3 separate regions of the Homo sapiens genome follow, and regions 1 and 3 are each linked to region 2. The links are contacts of gene promoters, found by promoter capture Hi-C in blood cells and fetal thymus (Javierre and others, 2016). All regions are on one chromosome and are shown on one strand. Each heading gives the region's core, a stretch centred on a gene start or on the middle of the fragment in contact. The rest is flanking DNA. Distances are from core to core; before and after follow the strand shown. Region 1 overlaps TUT7 (terminal uridylyl transferase 7). Region 2 holds the start of UBQLN1 (ubiquilin 1). Region 3 holds the start of AGTPBP1 (ATP/GTP binding carboxypeptidase 1).

The links. Contacts are between HindIII fragments. The CHiCAGO score rates a contact against its expected background, and 5 or more counts as called.
Region 1: a contact is called between a fragment that was not itself captured here and the fragment with the promoter of UBQLN1 in region 2, in 1 of 17 cell types (activated CD4 T cells). The highest score is 7.0, in activated CD4 T cells.
Region 3: a contact is called between a fragment that was not itself captured here and the fragment with the promoter of UBQLN1 in region 2, in 2 of 17 cell types (non-activated CD4 T cells and naive CD8 T cells). The highest score is 8.2, in non-activated CD4 T cells.

Annotation. Positions count from the first base shown.
Region 1 is chr9:86,349,649-86,352,348 of GRCh38, reverse strand. The region is part of intron 2 of TUT7 (terminal uridylyl transferase 7); the gene reads left to right. Among named protein-coding and RNA genes, the nearest start is that of TUT7, 3.4 kb to the left of the region's middle. The HindIII fragment of the contact is 2,336 bases long and covers 273-2,608 here.
Region 2 is chr9:83,706,622-83,709,321 of GRCh38, reverse strand. It overlaps UBQLN1 (ubiquilin 1), which reads left to right and starts at 1,364. Exons shown (of 11, transcript NM_013438.5): 1 at 1,364-1,822. The coding sequence starts at 1,643. UBQLN1-AS1 (UBQLN1 antisense RNA 1) reads right to left here and starts at 1,487. Exons shown (of 2, transcript NR_135839.1): 1 at 1,010-1,487. RefSeq lists enhancers at 562-1,450, 1,614-1,683, 1,451-2,341. The HindIII fragment of the contact is 7,028 bases long and covers 1-2,700 here.
Region 3 is chr9:85,741,857-85,744,556 of GRCh38, reverse strand. AGTPBP1 (ATP/GTP binding carboxypeptidase 1) reads left to right here and starts at 2,603. Exons shown (of 26, transcript NM_001330701.2): 1 at 2,603-2,700. RefSeq lists a silencer at 2,280-2,700. The HindIII fragment of the contact is 1,304 bases long and covers 799-2,102 here.

The sequences.
Region 1 (2,700 bases), core at 191-2,690, 2.6 Mb before region 2:
TGTTTTCAAAATTGTGATTATAATTTTGTATTTGAATAATTAATGTGTTCATAATATAAATGACAGAATATAAAGCTTTTTTTAAAAAAAAAACTTATTTGTTGATGTAAAAACACAGTATACACTGCGTATATCTCCTGCCACAAGAGATATATCTTTTGGATGTAGTGTCAGTGTCCCGAGATGGATAATCTGAGATCTTTGTTTTTCAAAAGGGATCGTGACAAACAGGTTGAGAAACAAGTTTAGAAAGTCAGAAATAGATTCAAGCTTTGCTGTTTGGTTTCAGTAAGACCAAAACTAATTTCTCGGTGCCCTCACATGCTTGGTTAATTGCCCCAAAGGGATAATAAGGAGATAATATGTTTTTCTAAAAGTAAAAAGTAGATTTTATCCATGTGGCAACGATTTCTGCAAACAGGAAGGTTATTTTTATCTAATGGGAGATATATACCGAAATGAAATAAAGTCACAAATTGGATGGAAAAAATGAAACAATATCACAGTTGGAAACATGGACTTGTAAGTTTAGTGGCTGAAAGCGTTTTTTAGTGGTTGTATAGAATGTGTTTCAAACTGGCCAGCACTTTTAAATAAATTTTTTTAGTTTAAATGCATTCAGGGAATATGGACACTTTCTAGATCACCCGATGCCTTTTCTCTTCATGTTATCTCACAGTGGCCAGTTCATACACTGGTTACCTATAAGGTGTTTGAATTTGTGTCCCATGCGTATAGAATACTTAAAAGCCAAAAGGTCGTCTTTTATCTTTACAAGGTCTTAGGATAAAAATGAAAGTCTCAAGCACTTATTAATATTAAATGGGGGGAAATGTGCTACTTGATTTTTTTTCTTTTTTCACAGATACTTCTAGTTGTCAGATCTGTTTATTTATATTTTATTTTATTTTTTGAGACGGAGTCTCGCTCTGTCACCCAGGCTGGAGTACAGTGGCGCGATCTTGGCTCACTGCAACCTCTGCCTCCTGGGTTCAAGCGATTCTCCTGTCTCATCCCCCAAAGTAGCTGGGACTACAGGCACATGCCACCACATCAGGCTAATTTTTGTATTTTTAATAGAGACAGGGTTTCACCATGTTGGCCTGACTGGTCTCAAACTCCTAACCTCCAGTGATCCACCCACCTTGGCCTCCCAAAGTGCTGGGATTACAGGCGTGAGCCACCACATTCAGCCTGATTTTTTTTTTTTTTTTTTGAGACAGTCTCACTGTGTCACCCAGGCTGGAGGTGCAGTGATGTGACCTCCTCTCACTGTGGCCTCTGCCTCCCAGGATCAAGCGGTTCTCATGTCTCAGCCTCCCAAGTAGCTGGGACTACAGGTGCACACCACCATGCCCAGCTAATTTTTCTGTTTTTTAATAGAGATAGGGTTTCTCCCTGTTGGCCAGGCTGGTCTTGAACTCCTGACCTCAAGTGATCGACCTGCCTCTGCTTCCCAAAGTGCTGGGATTACAGGCGTGAACTACCGCGCCTGGCCCTCAGATATTTTTAAATTTGAAAATTAAGAGTATATATTAATATCAAGTAGCAGAAACAGAATGAAGTGTTATAAAGGCGTTAAGTAGTAGGGAGACATAAAACTTAAATCTTTAAGCTAGAAATAGCTTGAGGAATTATCTGATGCAGTACTCTGTTGTAATATATCAAAAATGGAATCACAGTTTTACAAATCAGGCAGCTGCAGCTCAGAGAGGTTAAATTTCCACAGACCTGTTTATGCAGCGCGGTAAATGAGGAAGTAGAACTAAAATTGGGGACTCTGCTACTCTGGCCATTAACTCAGCCTCGCTGGACCTGAAATCCTGACGGCGGAGCCGAATATTTCTTGATAATTTCTGGGCTTTTGATTTGTGTTTTTCTTTATTAAAAATTGTGTATATTTAAGTGTTTCTGTATTACTGTCCAGGTGGGATGTGGGTATTTAATTTTGTTACCTATAGTCTTGTAGAAGTTGATCTTGAAAACCATTTCATTTTATTATTATTATTCTCTTTTTTGAGATGGAGTCTCGCTCTGTAGCCCAGGCTGGAGTGCAGTGGTGCGATCTTGGTTCACTGCAACCTCCATCTCCCAGGTTCAAGCAATTCTCTTGCCTCAGCCTCCTGAGTGGCTGGGACTACAGGCACGTGCCACCACACCTAGCTAATTTTTGTATTTTTAGTAGAGTTGGGGTTTTAGCATGTTGGCCAGGGGTAGTCTCGATACCCTGACCTCATGATCTGCCTGCCTTGACGTCCCAAAGTGTTGGGATTACAGGTGTGAGCCACTGCACCCGGCTGAAAAGCATTTTAAAAAGAAAGTTTATAGATCAAAAATTTGCAACTAGACATTAAAAGGAACTGTTGGCTGACCACAAAAACTTTTATATGTTTTCTTATTTTATGTGTATTCTTATAAAAGCAACTAAAGAAGTTGCTTTTAAGTGTATTTGAATAGGAAATGCATTTTGCTATTTTTTTATTGGAGGTAATTCAAAAGTTTGCATGTTTTTGCTGTATGACATACAGGTATATGCTTTCACAGTTATTAAGTAAAGAATTATTCAGTTTCTATCCCTTGAAAATCTTCATATAGGAAGCATTAAGCTTCGGTATAACATTATTTAGTTTAGAGAGATTCAACTGAAAGTATAAACTAAAAAGGATCTCATTAAAGAGATCGAAATTTCTTTATCAAAAT
Region 2 (2,700 bases), core at 115-2,614:
GTGGCACTTTCTAGCTTTAGAAGCAGTGATCATCTCACACCTGGACATAACCAAGTAGTCATCCTTCATTAAGCAGAAGGCCTTGTTATTGAGCCATGCTGCCAGAAATTTAGGTGATATCAAATGATGTCTATACTGAAATCGATACCCTCAGGATTCTCTTAGACCCAGATTCCATAGAGCTCTGCTAAAAAGTCGTGTTTATGTAACAGTATTTATTCTCAGAACAGGGTTGGACGGCTTAGGAGCAGAAAGGCAGAATGTATCTTTGCGGATTTGGGTCATAGTGGGCTGTCAGGATTTAAATTGTGCAACATTGATTAATAATGGGCTGGTTTGTACATTCCTTGCAAGTCATCTTTAAAAGCCAATGACGTCATTTCAAATTAGGATTCTCAGAGATAATTTCTCTCTGTATTACACTGAAAATAATTTTGGAACTATCCTTAATGCCACTTAAAGCCTGAAATTGACCAGTAACTTAATTTGATAGAATATAAGGCGAACACCTCAACTATATTAAATTGTCCCATTTGGGTGGACACTCCTCGGGCACCCTGTTCCGCCCTACACACAGATAATCTGGGGGCGCTCGCGCACAGCTGTCATCGTAGCAGCAGAGGCCACTGTCAATACAGGTTGCCTGACTGATCGTCTGACCAAACCGGGCTAACCCGAGGGCGGTAAATAAGCTCTGGCCATGAAGCAATGACTCCGCAGGATTGCGCAGGGCAGTCACGGGCGTTCACTCCATTTTCTGTTCGTTGTGCTGAGGCCTTTCCACCATTAACTTACCCCAACTCCCCCGCATAGGGCAATACGACCCCTCCAAATATCAAACGCTAAGCATATTAAAATAACAAAATACCTCGCCGCTATTTTATCACCAGACCCTCCTCCCAGCGGGGAACGCAGAGTAGACAGAGAGGCAAGGGAGGGCAAGGCGATTGTGACAGCGCGGAGGGGTGAACACGGCCCAGCTGGGCATGAGGTAAGGTGGGGAGACTACCTGGACAGCAAGCGCGCAGGCGCAGCCGCGGCCGCAGGGCCCACTGGTCCCTTTCTAGTAATTTCGCTAACCGTGACGTCATCTCGGTGCGCCGTTACAGCGCTTAACTGGAAACTGCGATTTAGTTTTTGGTGAAAGGAGTGGAAAAAAACCATGAACTGACCTACCCCGCCCCATTTTGCTTTTAGTCCTTCACACTGGCTTCGCCTGCACTTTGGGCAATGGAGCGGGAAAGGAAAAGGCACGCAGGCTGAGCTCAAAGTCGCGCCAGCCGGGGATGACTCGGCGACGCCGCCAGGCGCGTTACCCGGCGTGCTCCGCGCGGCGCCGGCGAAGGGACGTGGGGGAAGGGGCAGGGAGGAGGAAGCGGTGGCTGCTGCGGATGTCGGTGTGAGCGAGCGGCGCCTGAACACACGGCGGCTGCCGAGCGCCTGACCCGGGCCTGCGCCAGAGCCTGCACCGAGCTCCGGGGCCCCACACCCGCTACGGTGGCCCTGCGCCCGTTGCTACTGAGGCGGCGTGCTCTGCATTCTTCGCTGTCCAGGCCTGCCGGCTCTGGTGTCTGCTGGCTCCTCCTTGCTCGCCTGCTCCCTCCTGCTTGCCTGAGTCACCGCCGCCGCCGCCGCCACAGCCATGGCCGAGAGTGGTGAAAGCGGCGGTCCTCCGGGCTCCCAGGATAGCGCCGCCGGAGCCGAAGGTGCTGGCGCCCCCGCGGCCGCTGCCTCCGCGGAGCCCAAAATCATGAAAGTCACCGTGAAGACCCCGAAGGAAAAGGAGGAATTCGCCGTGCCCGAGAATAGCTCCGTCCAGCAGGTGAGGCCGCCTGGGGCTCGGGCCGGGATGGGGGTGGCGGCAGGACCTCCGCCCGCCGCCCCAGGAGACCTTTTGGAAGGGCCTGGGAGAGGGGTCGTCCTCGGCCATTCTCCCGGGCGTCGTCCCAAATTAGATCACACCCAAGTTCGTGGGTTTGCGCCTTGGGACACCGCAATGGTTTGTGGCGTGGCGGCGCGGCCTGTTTGTGGGACGGGCTGATGCCGCTTTTCTCGGAGCCTTCCTTCTCTGGTATCCGCCGACCCTCAGCCTCCTCCCCCAGTTCCCCGCCCTCCGTCGCCTCCCCTCCAACTCCTCACAAAGGAAAGGGACCCACCGCCAGCCTCCGGGCGGGGTGGAGGCTGGGCGGGGGCGAGGGTTCGCTTTAGCTCAGGCTGCGGTTTTGTTTCATGAATTAAAAAGGGGTGGGTGGGATCCTCGTTGTTTTACGTGCCTGCTTGTTAAGGTGGGTTTTGGGGTGAGGTGCATGTGTATATTTAGTTCTGCATTTTAACTCCTGAAATCTTTCCCACCTTGCAACCTTTAAAAAAAAATTATGACGTAGAAACTGTTTTTAGCTCCATCTTAAGTAATAGTGATAGTACTAGGTTTAAGGAGAAAAGTGAATGACTTTCTTTCACTGATGACTTGCTCTTTCCCTTTTAGTATGTTTATCATCTCTTAGATGCCAATCATTGGGTAGGTTTTTGTTTGATTTTAGAGGGGCGATAGCGATGTTGATATTAGCGGTTGCAATCAAATAAAAGAAAATCGGAGTGAATGCAGAATATTACTTAAACTTGGTTCAGGAATACAAATCTTGCAGTTAATTAAGATTCTTGGTGGAATTTAACAAATAATTTTAGTGTATTGTTGAATAC
Region 3 (2,700 bases), core at 201-2,700, 2.0 Mb before region 2:
TTTTGCTTAACAAATTCTACTTCACTCACTCTTCAAGTGTCCGTGTACCTGATTTTTCCTGGTCTTGAGACAAGAACCTGGATCTAGCTGAGCTAAGGAGGAAACAATCCTGGATCAACATGGTTTATTGCCATGTGAAGATAATTTATTTTCTTAGGTTCACAATGTATAGAGGCAGAGAATTAAGAGAATAATTTCACAGGGAATACACTCCATAGATGATGTTTATTAACTACATAGTGAGTGAGTTCCAAAACTATTAAAACCTAGTTGTTCAATTAAGATTGAAGCAGACCTCTGTGGAAAGTAAAGTCTGATTAAGGATTGAGGTGGGTGTGGTATTAATGCCTGTAATCTCAGCATTTTGGGAGGCTAAGGCAGGAGGACTGCTGAGCCCAGGAGTTTGAGACCAGCCTGGGTGACTTAGGGAGACCCCGACTCTACAAAAACAATTAAAAAAATTAGCCAGGTGTGGTGACGTGTGCCTGTAGTCCCAGATACTCAGTGGGAGGCTGAGGTAGTACGATTCATTAAGCCTGGGAGGTCAAGGCTGCAGTGAGCCATGATTGCACTACTGTATTACAGCCTTGGCAACAGAGTGAGAGTCTTGTCTCAAAAAAAAAAAAAAAAGAAAGAAAAAGAAAAAGAAAAAGAAAAACAACTGAGGTGTACCTTTACCTTTTGGAGGCTGAGGTTCTCGGGAGAGATGGTGTCCAACATACAGGAGATCGGTGAGGATATGCAAGGTCCCACGATGCTAGAGGGCTGTGCCAGTGTTGGTGGACAGGCTTCAAAGCTTAAAGGCTAACAGGGTGTGGCCCTGTTGCAGCCTGAGCTGGTAGCGTTCAGGGAAGTGGCTGACAGAGCACGCGATCTGCCACCCGCTGAGCTCTCAAAGTATCTTGCAAATTCTTGAGTTTATATGTATTTCGAAATCCTGTAGTTGAGGTCAGTAACATATATATGGTGTTTGATAAGGTGTAACGTCACATTAGCTAGGAGAGGTGAAGTTTATTTCAACTTCATACACGTGGGATCTGATGAAGAGTGATGTCACATTCCCAGGGGGTGGGGGAGTAGCTCTAAGTTCTTAATTACCGCAAAACATAAATCACTCACTCTTGTGGCAAACTATGTGATTGGAATCATTTCAAAGCTATGTAATGCTGCTATTTATCTTGTGTGGGTTAATCTCCTGGGTCTGTGTTGTGGTCATCAAACTATGCTAACAGTGCTTGTGAAAGTGGGATTCAAATTCCACAAACACACACATCCACATAATATCTTCCTATATTGCAGGTTGACTCATTTAGAAACATGTTCTTTAAGAAAAGTTTCAGGTATATTACATACATATTTAGCATTATTGTAAAATTATTACATTATTATTGGGTATTTTCAGATAATACGTTTCTGATTGGGTGGTTTGGGGTGGTGGTTGTTTCAAAATTATTTTAAATACCGTAACCTATCTTTTAGTGCTCACGATGAGGGAAACTACGATGTTTATAAAATGGCAGTTTCTTGTTCATCTGAATAAAGACATCTACCAAGGGCAAACTGTAAGAAGCACTGTGGTGTACCTTGGGTTACTTTTTGAATTGCTTTCACACCTGCTTAATTTTATTTGAACAAGATCATAAAACAAAACAAAAATCTCACAGTTCTCAATGCATTCCCTTATCTAGTTGTGATATTACATTCCTTACCATAAACAGTAGCAAACATGTTCTTGTGCAACGTGAAAAAGTAAATGATGTCAGTATTTATTTGCAATACATTGCAGTACACTGAAGTACAGTCAAAACAGAAGGGGGTGTATTAGTAATTTCTCTGACACATTACTTTGGCTCAGATAAAACATTCCGCCTTTGCCTTCAGTAGCCAACTTAGCATTACCGTTTTGATTATATGCAGGCACTTTTTCAAAAAACAGTAAATCAGCATGCTATTTTGTTCGCTGCAGCACTAGGCATCTAATTTACTGAGATTTGGCCACAAGGTGCAATCCTGTTGTTTTCTGGGAGCCCGATTGTAGTAACAGCATGTCCCTTCCAGCCTCTTATTATGGACCCTCCTTGAGGTCAGGAAAGGTCTAAGCTTTACCGCAGTCCCCAGCGTTTGATGCGACCCCGGGATCACGTGGGGAGCTTTAAGAACCCTTCCTAAGAAAGTGACTGATTGATGGCGGGGGAGGGGGTGGGCGCGGGCTTAGTTCCGGGAAAAGGCTGGGGCCCTCGTTGGGAGTGTACAGAAAGATGACTTGAAGAACGTGGGGAGTCGCTCGCAGTTCGGTACGGAGGGGCGGTGGCCGGGGCTGCTGGGTACAAGGGACCGGCAGCGCGCGGAACACCCGCCCCTAATTCCCGCTCCCGTGCGCGCTCCGCCCCCACGCGCGCGCTCCCTCCCGTCAGGCGCGCAGAGAGGCGGGGCGCAGCGCGCACGGAGGTAACAAGGGACGCGGCGGGAAGAGGGCGTGCGCTCCGCCCCGCCCCTTTCGCGGCCTCGCACGCCCCGCCCCCACTCCCTGCGCGTGCTGGGAGCCGGCTGGCAAGGCGTGCGGTGGGCGGGGCGCCGCGCTGACGTTGCCCGGGATGCGGACAGGTTCCGCCGCCTCCAGCGCCGCCGCCGCAGCTGCCGCCGCCGCCGCCTCCGCCTCGCCTGCCACCGGGGTTTGTATGAAAACACCGGGCGGCGGGC